4 separate regions of the Homo sapiens genome follow, and regions 2, 3 and 4 are each linked to region 1. The links are contacts of gene promoters, found by promoter capture Hi-C in blood cells and fetal thymus (Javierre and others, 2016). All regions are on one chromosome and are shown on one strand. Each heading gives the region's core, a stretch centred on a gene start or on the middle of the fragment in contact. The rest is flanking DNA. Distances are from core to core; before and after follow the strand shown. Region 1 holds the start of EPHA7 (EPH receptor A7). Region 2 overlaps LOC107986623 (a long non-coding RNA gene). Region 3 overlaps LOC107986623 (a long non-coding RNA gene). Region 4 has its middle 450 kb from the start of MIR4643.

Evidence for each region. Contacts are between HindIII fragments. The CHiCAGO score rates a contact against its expected background, and 5 or more counts as called.
Region 2: a fragment that was not itself captured here is called in contact with the fragment with the promoter of EPHA7 in region 1 in 1 of 17 cell types (M0 macrophages); the score reaches 5.1 in M0 macrophages.
Region 3: a fragment that was not itself captured here is called in contact with the fragment with the promoter of EPHA7 in region 1 in 1 of 17 cell types (M2 macrophages); the score reaches 5.1 in M2 macrophages.
Region 4: a fragment that was not itself captured here is called in contact with the fragment with the promoter of EPHA7 in region 1 in 2 of 17 cell types (M2 macrophages and M0 macrophages); the score reaches 13.5 in M2 macrophages.

What each region holds. Positions count from the first base shown.
Region 1 is chr6:93,417,727-93,421,065 of GRCh38, reverse strand. EPHA7 (EPH receptor A7) reads left to right here and starts at 1,507. Exons shown (of 17, transcript NM_004440.4): 1 at 1,507-1,821. The coding sequence starts at 1,725. RefSeq lists a silencer at 1,260-1,459. The HindIII fragment of the contact is 10,467 bases long and covers 1-3,339 here.
Region 2 is chr6:90,944,597-90,948,049 of GRCh38, reverse strand. All of the region lies in intron 3 of LOC107986623 (a long non-coding RNA gene), which reads right to left. Among named protein-coding and RNA genes, the nearest start is that of MAP3K7, 360 kb to the right of the region's middle. The HindIII fragment of the contact is 547 bases long and covers 1,437-1,983 here.
Region 3 is chr6:90,924,704-90,927,886 of GRCh38, reverse strand. The region is part of intron 3 of LOC107986623 (a long non-coding RNA gene); the gene reads right to left. Among named protein-coding and RNA genes, the nearest start is that of MAP3K7, 340 kb to the right of the region's middle. The HindIII fragment of the contact is 3,573 bases long and covers 1-3,095 here.
Region 4 is chr6:91,074,555-91,077,977 of GRCh38, reverse strand. No RefSeq gene overlaps it. Among named protein-coding and RNA genes, the nearest start is that of MIR4643, 450 kb to the left of the region's middle. The HindIII fragment of the contact is 217 bases long and covers 1,506-1,722 here.

The DNA of each region.
Region 1 (3,339 bases), core at 258-2,757:
CCATGTTATTTTATTAGGCAAATAAAAACTACAGGAGACAATTTAACATAAAATACAAATAAATATCTGGGGGTTGTCATCTTAGAGAACTCCCTACTATAAAAAGCAGAAACAACTCAATTTACTTTATATTTCCAGATAGAAAGGTTGGAAAAAGTTTGGAGCCTTATGTGAGATCAAACTTTGGATCTATCGGAAATAAAAGGAAATCATAAATGACTGAGAAATATTTTTAAAGGAAGAAATTATAGGACAAAAAAAGAAATTCATCTTAAACATGTGATCAAGTTACTCTGTGTGACCTTTGAAATTGAAGATTTGGCAATTAAAATTTTAAAGTTCTTCCTCTTATTACCTACCTCTTGAATACAAAGTGTCCGAAACTGCCTAATGGAAAACAGATTTCTCTACGCAGCCTTCCTTGCCGTTCGGGTTGAATGAATTCAACTGGAGATATTGGTTATGACTTTTTTTATTCTTAGTTTCTCTTTGAAAGATAAGCATTGAATAATTCCTGAAAATGGTAAATACTTGCGAAGAGAAAGGTCTTGCTTTATGAATTTAATACGTAGTGGCATTCTTTAAAATTCAGTGTAATTTATGCAGCGAAATGGAAAACTATCAAAGTGGAGGCAATCCAAGGAAAACCTTAGAAAATGATAAACGCGTAAAAAAACGATACGCAACCATCAGAAGGTTCTCTCCTAATGTCTCACTTCGCTCAACAAACTATGGTGAAAAGACAGGGCGGAGGAGAAGGGGCGCTTAAAACAAAAGACTTCCTTTCCCACTCCCTTTTCCTCTGTTTCTTTTGCCAGAGCTTGTTGCAAACTCTTGGAAACATTGTTTAAACATAATACACTTGGTTACTTTATTCTTTCAGGGATTGTGGTGGGTGGTACCTAAAACTGACGGCTCTTGGAGTAACAGAAAAAGAGAAGTAGAAACTTTTCAAAAAGGCAAAAAACAAAGTTACCCAGCCCGCGGAGGTTCTAACAACAAAAAAGTAAAACACACTTTACTTAAAGGCACAGCTCATTTCACTGTCCGGGCTCCGTGCTTGGTAGCTGAGAGAAGGCTTGCTTCGCCTCTGGTTTCTAAAAGATCGCGCGGAGTACAGCTATAGAAAAGAGTGTAAGTTGGGAGCGTTATTCTCGGATTTATTCTGCTACGCGAAAGCTGCGGTTGCTAAAAGCAGAGCGTCCAAAGCAGCACACACCTCGGCTACCATCCTCGTTCTCCTCTGAACATCCAGCGCGAGCTCAGAACCTGGAGGGAATCCTGGACCAGCAACCTGACTCCGCTCGGCACCGATTGGCTCCTGCCTCGGACCCCGCCCCCGTGGCCGGGGCGGCCATTTCGCCGGGACCCGCCCCTTGGCCCTGGGAATCGCCTCCTGGCAGGCCGGCTGTGCCTGCCACTCAGCCCGAGTGGCGGAGGCTCTCAGCTCGGAGCCCCGCCCCCTCCCCCCCTAATTGATATTATTGGAGTGTGGAGCAAGCGGCCGGTCTGCAGTCGGAGACTTGCAGGCAGCAAACACGGTGCGAGCGAACAGGAGTGGGGGGGAAATTAAAAAAAGCTAAACGTGGAGCAGCCGATCGGGGACCGAGAAGGGGAATCGATGCAAGGAGCACAATAAAACAAAAGCTACTTCGGAACAAACAGCATTTAAAAATCCACGACTCAAGATAACTGAAACCTAAAATAAAACCTGCTCATGCACCATGGTTTTTCAAACTCGGTACCCTTCATGGATTATTTTATGCTACATCTGGCTGCTCCGCTTTGCACACACAGGGGAGGCGCAGGCTGCGAAGGAAGGTAAGGTGATGGGAAAGCAAAGTTTGTTCTGACTTATTTATTTAGATGTCTACCTGCACAAGCCAGCTCGTCCGCGGCGCTGCCGGCCGCGCCTCCGGCGCCGGGCGACCCTCCCCCGCCGGCTCCCCGCCCCCTCACCGCTGAGGCCGCTCCTGGCGGACCAGCGAGCGCGAACCAGGGCTGTTCCGAGCCGCCTACAGCCCTGTGCCCGGAGCCGTCCATCCGACGGGTGCGGGATTTCTGGCGCGGGCAGTCTGGAGGGCGTGAGCAGCAACGGGGGTGGGGTGGGGTTGGAGGAACTGCCGGCGAGCTTATTTCTTAGTACCTCAGGCGGGTCACATCTCTCTCTAGCTCGGTCTTCCTTGTCTCCTTATTCGCCTTCTGTGGGAGCTGCGGCCAGAGTTGGGTTGGAGACTGGGAAATGCAGCCCCTACCGTCTCCGCCAGCCCGCCGGCGAGTGGCGGGAGCCCGGAGCCTTCCCAGAGGGACCGAGACTTCGATGAGCTCGGAAAGCTCGGGTTACTAATGAAGTGCTCACTGCGTCGGAGGCGGCGGCGCGGTCCTGCGGTTGGCGCTCGGCCGCCAGCACGGAACAATAACGCCGCGGAGGTGAAGCGCGGCGTGCGGCGCGCGACCCGAGGGCCGGGGATGTCTCCATTCAGCGCGCGCTGCGCGTCGGGCCCAGCGGTCATGGGGGCAGCGGCAGCCCAGCGGGCTTGGTCGGGCCGTGGAGGCAGGGGGCGGGCTGGAGCTGTGCAATTTGTAAGGATGCCGCCTGGGCGACTCAAAGTCCCCAATTATTTGCCCCATAGTGCAGCAATTGAGGAATCCGAGTGCCCAATCCTTGCCAAAGACCTGAACCCTGAGGGTTGGTTCTGGTAGGAGAAGGCAGGTTTTATTTGGCAAGCTGTTACAGATACGCCTGTATATGGTTATGTTTTCCTTCTTTGAACCTTTGACAGAAGGTAAAATACCTTTCGGTGCCTGTAGTTGGAGCTGGGGAAAAATAAACCCTGTCAATGGAAGTCTCTTGCTTTTGAGCAGTGTCACAATCCCATCCCCAACCCCCCTCATCCCGTCGCCCCCCTGGTCTTTCAGGCTGTGTATCTAAGTTTCATTTTTCGATCTGTTAAAAGCAGAAGAGAAATAATTACTTATTCCTGATGTGTAGAGGGAGAGGAATCTGTTATGAAATTTAGGTCATGGTGGTTATCGGGCGGGGTGTTGAGGGGACTTACATATAGGTCCTTGATTCATCTATTTCTGAAAACTTAGTGCACCTTTTCTTTATTCTCATCGTGCACTCCTCTTAGTTCGCTCAAGCCCCCCTCAAACCCGGCGCCAAATTCTAGTCCTTCTTTCAGCCTGACCTTCTGACCCCACTTTCCACATCTGCAACCTGTATAGATGCTGAACCCATTCAGAGAACCCCGTGCCTCCAAGCTGGCGGTTACGCGTTTGCAGAAGGACGGACATCTGCTAGAAACGCACGCTCATCCCCTCCAAAACCACATTTCT
Region 2 (3,453 bases), core at 461-2,960, 2.5 Mb after region 1:
GGCACCACAAGTTCCCACTTCGGTCTGTAGGACTGGCACCCCAGCGTCCAGCCTTCAGGCCCTCTCTGGCATGAAGGTGGGGCCTCACCAGGGACCCACTCCCTTTGCCCAGAAGCCTGTCTGCCTCCTGCCACTGTCCATGGTGCCCAGGCTGCTCACGCCAAGGGGAACCTGCAGGCCAGCAGGTAGCCACACTTACACTGCCCTTGGGTTCCTCCCATACTCATCCATGCCCAAAACCTGGAGGGGCCAAGGCAGCATGGCGTTGGTGTGTCAGCAGTGCACCAAGTCTGTGCACACCCAGCCAGGCTGTGGCAGTGACTGGGCTCAGCCCCAACCCCACTCTGAGATTGGACAGGGCACCAGGATTAGGGAGAGGCCAGGCGGCGGGAGAAGACACTCCCCAGCCTGCATGGGAAAGGGGGGCCTTCCCAGGCACTCATGGGTGCAGACTGCAGAGACGCCCGGGTCCTGTGCCTGGGAAGGCAGAACTCCCATCAGCTCAGTGGAGCATGCGGGCAGCCCTGGCTACACCTCCTCCAGCCTGGGGCAGGAGCTCCAGGTTCTCTCTTAGGCCCTCTCTGCCCGCCCCTCCATGCCCTACCTTGCTGCTCCCGCGCTAATAGGCGGCTCCGCCTGGCCTCATTGCGGCGGCTTCCGGGGGCGGTGGGCTCCTAGGGGATGGCTCTCGCTTGTCCCCGGCTCCCGCTGGCTCCATGGAGCGCAGCACCACCCTGGGCCCAGCTCTGCCTCCTCGCTGCACCCTCCCCGCAGCAGCAGCCGGGGAGAGCAGCAACATGGGGCCAGGGTCCGAAGCAGCAGAGGGTCCAGGCCTGGGAGCAAATCCCGCCCCACCGTGCGAGGGTAGGGGCGGCTCAGTCAGCTGCATCGGGGATGTGGGGCACAGGGGACCAACCACTGCCATTGCTGCTCCTGCAGCCACCCCTGCTGCCACTGCCCACGCCTTCCCGGCTGCAGCCAGCGTGATGGCAGTGACGGCTCCAGATGGCCGGCAACTGCCATCAACACCAGAATGAGAGAGTGAATGAAAGCCCCTTCTGGTAGTTGGTCAGGATTTTTGCTGGCCTACAGGTAAAGTGCCTAACAAAAATCCCAAGCTAATTCCAGCCTGTCATAGATGGCTATCCCACAACAGGACAAAAGACCACTTTCAGGGTATACAGTATATTTCATCAAAATGTGCTCAATACCCATTAGAATAGTGTGGGTCATAAATAGTCATAGCTATTAGATAATGTATCATTGAAATTACATTGAAATTAATAATGATATTATAATATCATGTATATATTGAAACATGCCAAGGAAAGCAAACACATTTACCTATTTATATATATATATGTGCATATATATGTATATATACATGTATGTACATTTATATGTATGTATATTAAATTCAGTATAATTTGAAAGCTTTGAAAAGTACTTGAGGTGGCAAAGCAGAAGGATAGTAAATTAGTTTTTATTGACATTGGTAGATTTAGGCTACAGCTTGTTTTTTCATTCATTAGCCTAAAGAGAAAAATTACAAAATTATGCATAGTGTTTTATCTACAAAACAAATTTATAACTAAGTCGTCTAATGTTAAAACTGACGTTAAATGTCTTACATAAGTCCTCACAGGGCTAAAAACTTGATCTAGACTGAGAAAACATGTAGACATGAAGATAAAAGCAAGAATAGTACATTCGGTTTCATGTTGGAAAATATATCTACCTTAGAGCCCATGTTTCAATATCAGCTATGTAAACAAGTCTTTAAATCAATTTTATTCTGAATTCATTGTTGTATTCTGACCACCTTTAACAGACCTTCAGGAGATGTGCAATCTACTGGAAATGTGCACCAAAAGAACTTTGGTGGCAAAAAAAAAAAAAAAAAAAAAAAAAAAAAGCATGCTCCTCAAGTTCTCTCCTGTTGCTTTGGAGCAGACAGATGGACGTCTATCTTAGTGAAAAGCTTTAAGAGCGATTCCTATGAGACGCAAAAGCTGAGCATAGGGTTGAGAGCGGAGCCCCAGACACTGACCAATTCTAGCCCCCTACAGAGGACTTGTAGGACCTTGAACAAGCTACTTAACCTTTCGAAATCTACAATCTCCTTATCCTTAAGGTAAGGACAATAGTGCCTGCCTTTCGGGGCCATGAGGAGAAAATGAGATAGCACCTGTTAATCTCTCAGTGTCATTGTGGGCTGGCCTATGGAAAGCATGCAGGTGCTGGGTTTTCCTACCTGCTATAATTTTCATCATTCTTTAATTATTATTATATGCATCTCCCTTGCAAAAATGAACACATGTAGGTTGGGTAATCTTTGACATTTTTAAGTTAATTCTTACTGCGTTTGTCCTTTTCCCAGTCAGAGTTGTGTCCTGTGTTTTAGGGCTGAAAGCAAAAGTTGACTAAAACATCCCTGGGCCACCCCCTGGCTTTGGTTTCAAATGCTTAAATTCATAAAGGACTTTCTCAAAGACTTTTCAAGGTCAGGTAGAAAGTGGAGAATAGCAGGGCCTGTGTCTTTCTCCACAGTGTGTCCCAGGAACATCTCAGGACCACAGAAAGCAATTGCTTTGTGGTGCCCCAAGTGAAGCTGGTTTGGAGTTCTCAGGCTCAGCAAATATTTCTGAAACCAACCTGGCCTGGAACAAGAAGAACCACCATTTTTTGAGAACCATAATGACATCAGTGTGACCACTGTGACCTGAAAACAAGAGGGCGGTCTGTGAACATACTACTGCATATATTAGGTTGGTGCAAAAGTAATTGCTGTTTTTGCCATTGCTTTAATGGCAAAAACTGCAGCTACTTTTGCACCAACATAATAAAATTCCGGGCTTTTGTATCAATCTTCCCAGGAAGGGAGACATAGTAACGAAGGAGACTAAATTCCCTGCCACCCTGGTGTGGTGGGCACTCAGGATAACAGAAAAATAATACAGAAAAATACAGAATAATACAGAAAGATAATATGACATTTCTTGCACAACTGCATGTGTTAGTATACATATGCTCATATATGTACACGTGCACACACATTTATACATAAGGAGAAACATCCTGATTTTGGTAATTCTGGCAGATGATGGAATTCTTACTTTACAGACTGAAGTGAAAAGATGACAACAATAGCAGTATCTATTCTGTGCAATATCCATACAAACCAGAATTAAACTGATCTAACCTCCAAAAAATTTTCACCATTCACATTACTGCATTTAAAAATATCATATCTCAGAGGGCTCAGTAAGTTGATTGCTTATTGACTTTCCGGTGGGTCCATATAGTGTAATGAGTCTTTATATCTCTGTTTTTATATTGCTTATTGGATTTTTAAGATTAAACAAAGCCTATGAGAAAAATTATAGTGTTGGAAATTAGAAGAGGTGGTCAAGTGAGTACATTATTATCCTATCAAAAATACATTTAAATTTT
Region 3 (3,183 bases), core at 60-2,559, 2.5 Mb after region 1:
CTTCTAATAATTCAATATATTTTTCCTTGCAGCTTGAGCTAGTTTGAATGGGTTTTGGCTATTTGCAACCACTCTCTCTCTGAAAAACAGATTACCTAGTATATGTAAAATATTTGAGGTATTTTAAAGAGAAAGTTAAATCAATTCAGAGTATGAATAAAGGTGGTCCCAAATTTTAGGTTCAATTTATGCTTTTGGCAACTTCAACTTTAAGAGAAATTCCACAAAGGTAAATCCCCTTGTCCGTGCACTGTGTGTTTGCAGGTAGTTAAGTGCAGGTCCTTAGCTTTAGCTATTTGGACATTAATGAAAACCATTCAAATGATTCAATACAGGCAGAGAAAAATGCAAAACAGTGATAGGGACTATATTTTTAAAGCATTATCTCAGACAGACCTATGAGTACTTGCCACCAGAGTGATCCTTCTAAAACCCTAAACTGATCGTGCCTTTCCTGCTTCAAATCCTCTTATAGTGCATCATTTATTTTAATAGAAAATGCAAACTTATTGGTTTAGTGCTTACCTACTTCCCCAATCCCATGTCTCACACTCAGTTCCTCACATATACCTTACAAGCACTCCTCAGTCTTTCAACACAGTATCCCAACTCTAGAATAAAATGAACACATTATCTTGGGGTCTAAGGGCATTGCCAAAACTGCTCTTGCAAGCACAAAATTTATATGAAATACTCATGCTTGGTTGCATAAATTTTTACATTCTTTTCAATAACATATTCAAATATTTTGAGATATATTTCCCAAGAATTGAAAATCCATGAGTTTTAAGATTGTCTAATTTATTAACTATCCCTGATGTCTGTTAGAGTGCCTAGCACAGATTAGGTCGTCAATAAATATTTGTCAAACCAATAAAAAGTAAATTTTGGGGGGTAAATAAGGTCACATCTATTCTGTGGCCTTACATACTCCTGTAACACAAGTTTGTCTGACAGCTTGAGAAGAAGTGCTCTGGTTATTCTGAGTTGTATATTTCCTGACTCATTCCTACACACTCTTCAAGATACCATTAACTATCATCTATTGGGAGCCTTCCTTGCCTTCCTGAGGAGCACTTCTCCTGTGCCCTGTAAGCATCTCTAGCATAAAATGCAGTATACTGTACAGTAATGATTTGTCTACTTTGCTATCTTCCCTACAAGATTAGAAACTCCCTTAGGTTGTGATCCATGTTTTGTTCCCATCAGTAGCTCCAGCACCTGGCCCATTGAAGGTTTGCATGAACATGGTGTTGAATAAATGAATGAAAGAGTCAATGATTCAGATCACCTGGAATAAACACGTGGCTGCCACCATTATACTTTTTTGTTGGTCACCACTAAATGCAGATATCAGCAGTATGAGACATGGTAAAACCTGGGATATCCCTCTGGCTGATCCATCATCTCTTACCTTTCCTTTAGAAAAACTGAGTAGAGGATGAAGTTATATAACCAGAACACTTTAGATGCAGACACAATAATTTTTAAACTGTGTTTGTGCCAAGAGCCACTATACACTACTATTTCTTCCATGCTTATAGGGCTTATAACAAAGTAGTCATGAACTAACAAAACACTGATGCCCTAAGAACAAAAGTGCAGCCCTCTCCTCTGATCTATTCCTTCAGCTGCTTGGCCTGTTACTCAAAGAGGCCCAGTTACCACAGCCAGAACCTATACCCAGTTGTGACCTGTCATAAAGGAGTGTCAAACTTTATTCTTAGCACAACTAAGTATTTAAATATGTTGGAAAATTAAACACTGATGAATTAATCTGACATCCCAAATATTTATCTTTTGCTTTAGAAACACCAGAGGGAGAAAATCAGTAGTTTATGCAGTATGGGTCATGAGTACATAGAATAAACAGCCAATCTCCAGTGCAGCTTGCACCCTTCTCAACAGCAGGAAACCCTTCCAGCATTACTGTGTCCTTTATAATCTATAACACTTTGGGGAATCTGGAAATTGTTTTGCCGCCAAAGCATATAGGGGGAAGGAGGGGCAACACGCCAGCACCTCTTAAAGCAAGCACAAAAGTGCCATTCTCTCATCCAGCAAAACAATGAGATTAGCTCTTTTATCACTAATTTTTTACTCTCCTTGCCTACTTTGTAAACACGGCATGGATGACTTTGCTCCTTATCAGCCGCAAACTGAATCTGCCTTTGTCGAAGCACTGTCAATCAGCAGCCTCTCTGTGCATACACTCAGTGATATACCCAACTGAAAAAAGACAGACTTTCAATTTCCCCGCAATAACAGAAAAAACATAAAAATAAACTGAATGAAAAACAGAAAAGACTCTTCTGTACAGTGTAATCTAGGGTTCATTTACTCTGCTAGACAGAATGAGATTAAAAACCAATGAAGGTCAAAGCTATTAACATTTGGATCAGAGGGCATTTTGCCTGTTAGGATCTAGTTAGACTGGGCCTTTGTAATTGCCCAGTTTTTTTCCAACATGTCATGTAAACACTAACATTAGCTAAAGCCTGAGTGGGCTCAGGCTCCACATAGGCAGCTTTATCTTTGATTAGCAGCAAAAACACGTAATTCTTTATATATCAATTTGAATGGTCAATGAACCTCTTCAGTTTTGCTAGTACCACTTGATTGTGACATTTCCAAATGGACCATAATTTGATTTCCCTTTAGAACCCTTCTGCTGTTCATTTTTTAAAGTATATGATTGACAGCTTCCTTGCATACTAGGCAACTTTGAGGGCCAGCACATTAGACTTAACAAAGAATGCCCTTGATCATCAGGAAAGACTAAGGAAATTTGAGTGCTAGTCTAGAAGATAACCTTTCATGATTAAATTACTGTCAACATACCATGAAACAGCTCCTTCCTCAAGCTCTGGCAGTAACATCTTTCCTTTGTTCTTATGTTTCCTGAAAATGAAAGCTGAACTGTGAGAGCACCTTCTAGACAAAACTTAGCACCCTCTACTCACATTGTCTATTCCCATTGCAAGCAAATAATGCATGGGAACTGTGTGTGTGACTTTGAATGCATGCCCAAGCCCTTCAAAAAAAGCTGAACAATATTTACATTTCTATCAACATTGTTACACGTAAAGGAAGCTTTTCCACCTTCCATGTCTCCATTTTCTTCTCTACCCACACAAACACCTCTGTCCTCATGTCTCAAATCCCCTTGAAGTCTTCCCTGAC
Region 4 (3,423 bases), core at 365-2,864, 2.3 Mb after region 1:
CTCAAATTGCTTTTTTCTAGAAATGATCTATTTGTGTTATTTAACCTCCAAGCTCTGTTATTTTTGCTTTTTGTTTTATTAAGCTTATGCAGGTGGTAGGCTGCCTGAGGCCATGGTCTGCTTAGACTAAATCGTATCTTTTACTGGGCCTGGCTGAACTCTCTGTCTATGGGTCTGGGGTTAGGGATTTCATTTCATTTCCTTAAAATGAAGTGTAGGTGAACACTGTTCATTCAATGACCATGTGATGTTTTGTATAAAGCTGATGTCTACGGATGGTGGCCATTTGAAGTGTTTTGACATGTACCTATTATTTTCATTGCCAAAACAGTGTCCACAACATGATCTTCATGGGGTGGAGATTATGGATTTTATTGTAAAACAATGTTATCTTGGAGTGGTGTCTCATTTTTCTTTACTTTCCTTGATATTTCCCTTCTTCCTAAACTGAGGAAGTTACATCACATAGGCTCTCACCCTCAGCAGGATAGTTTCCAAATGGTTCATGTGGTGTGATGAAGATGTATATATAAATGCACACACACAAATTTATACATATACACACATAAACACACATACATATATGCATATTCATATGTCACCTCACCTTATTTTGCCCTGAAAACTTAATTTACCAGAAAGCACCCTTAATCTGTTGAAAGGACCACTCAACATAATCATAATCAGAAGAATCCAAATTCTGACACTGCAATCGCCCAAACTGGATTTTTTCCTAAATTCTAATACTCAGGTTTCTTTGTGATGAGTCATATTTACCCAAGATACACAATGGCAGGTGAAAAAAGGCTGAGAGAGTAAGTGAAGCTCAGCATTATGATGTTTCCCAACTGGTTGTTTCTTATATAATCTGGTGTAGGAGGAGAGCTCAGCAATTACTGTATTTCCTATGCTTATGAAACAGATACATATATATCTTACACACATACACATTCATGTGTAAATATATAGAATAAAATACAGCAGGTTACATAAATAATTAGAAAAGTAGGGACACAGGACTGAGGTTGTCTCTAGGTACCTAGCCCAGCTGCTTCAAACCAGCCACCACAGGATCAATTAGGGTATGACACCATCTCATCTTCAGTATAGCTACAAGGAACAAATTGACCACATGATAGTTCAGGATCATTCAGGATTTCATACACCCTTAGTCCATAAATTCCACAAGCCAGCATCCCTCCATACTTGATGTGTGTCTTTCCAGCCACTCAAACATAGGTGCAGAAACCAAGACTTGGCATACATTTGCTCATCAAAATTTGCTTAAGTCCAAGTTTGGTGACTCACGAGTCTCCTTCAACGAGTGATTCTACCTGATTTTACTGCAAAATAACATTGGCTTTAATTCGTTTCTATTTATCTACCATTAATTTCAAATAATTTTGCTTACATTTTATCTACAAGTTCATGAGATAATTTGCTACCTGAGATCTGCAAAGCGACTCTGTTTACAGCTATTATAAGCATGTCATTCTTCTAAAGCTTCACTCTGGAATATTATGACAAAATAGCAAGAACATAATTTTAACATACATAAAAATTATTACCATGCAGTTGTGCAAGTATGTCTTTCCTGTACTGAGGTCCACAATCCATTCTATTTGTGCATACTACATAAAGAGAGTAACAATTTAGCAGCCCTTTATTTTATTTTCCTGAAATCTATTGAGGAGGTAGGTAAAGGCCTCAACAATCTAAGCTTTGTGCTAAATATCTGCAACAGACCTTCTGCAAAAACTAGAACAAAATAATTAAGAAGTTATTTAAGCAACCATTTGCCACAAACCAGATTGAGGGATTTGAAATATGTACAAATATTTTTAAATAACCCTTCAAAGGGGAAATTTGTACTAATAAGTAAGGGCTGCTGCAGCTCCTGCTGCTGGCTCTGCATCCTGGGAGTACATATGAGACAATATAAACAGGTTCCAACATTTTTCATCTTCCCTATGGTATCTAAAGAAATACTCTGATTTTAACTGCTGCATATCTGGGGCAGAGCCTTTTCTAATAAGATTCCATAATCTTCACAGCACAATACTCTCTGTGTTAGAGCAATCCCACGACTCATAATTCCCCAGCAGTTAGTGTGCCAGGGTGAACTTCTGAGTCTCAGATAACATTAAGGCTGTGGTTTATGCCCTGATTGATAACATAGTCAATGGAGGCAACCTGTCCCAGAGAAAGGATCCAGAAAGCTTTGCATAGTGTTTACGATACAGATAACCTCCTGGCTGACATCTGTGGAGAAAAACCTTTGATGGATGAAAGAGGCTATAAGATCCTGTGCACCAGATAGCTCTGGTGAATTTCTCATGTATCACTCTTTAGACAATTATAGCTCTTTATTTCTTCTATTTGGTCACAAACGCTTAACTGATTTTTATAGCAATATGTTTTGCAGAGAATATTTGATAAATATAATGAAATCATTTTATGCTAGATCCCAGGGGATAGGCCAGGGGTACGCCGTTAAAAGACAATATTTCTTTGTTATACATATTAGGCCCTGTACTATTACTGCAGCCTGAGTCTCATTGGAATGTTTAAGAGCCTCCCACACCAATAAGTCCTCTAACTGCTCACTAATCAAAGTGTGGCCTGTGGCCCAGCAGCATCAGCACCCCCAGAGATCTTGTTAGAAATGCAAAATCTCAGGCCCCACCCTAGACCTACTGAAGCAGAATTTGAAGATTAACAAGATTCCTGGATGTTTCCATGCACATTAAAGGCTGAAAAGCACTCCACTATTGCATCTCAGTGCAAGTTGCAGCCACAGGCTGTCAGTAACCAACAGGAGGAGATGGGATGTGGTTACCAAGTGACCCAGTTCCTTTATATCCCTTTCCTCTGACATCCCTTCCATGGCCATTTGGCATTGACTAGTGGACTTAGGCTGAGATTGACATGGCTCAACTAGGACATGAATTATTTGTGATCTAGTAAACACACAAGGTTGTCATGCCTTGGAGAAAGGCAGAAAGGGAAAAAAATGCACTTGCAGAAAACCTGGGATAAGAATGTCCATGGTTGATGGAGAAAATCCTTAAACTGACACAGAGTAGCTTGCTGGGTATGGTATGCACAGAGCAGAACTTGTATACCCTGAAGTCTACCAGCTCCTCGGGTACACTCTACCTATAATTATAACTTTAGTCTACCATTATTCAATCCATCACTAATAAATTCCACTAGTCTCTTACAGAATATCCCAACTAAATGAGTTAGCTATTACATACGAAAGGCTAATACCACATACGTAAAGCAAAGAAAAATGAAAAAGAAGAAATAAAATATTGTTTGGACTTTGACCTTCTGGTGCACTGAAGTTTGTGGTTTTTAGAGAATGTGAGACCAGTTACCATGTGAATTCCCTTTAAAGATTAATCATGGCTTTGAGAC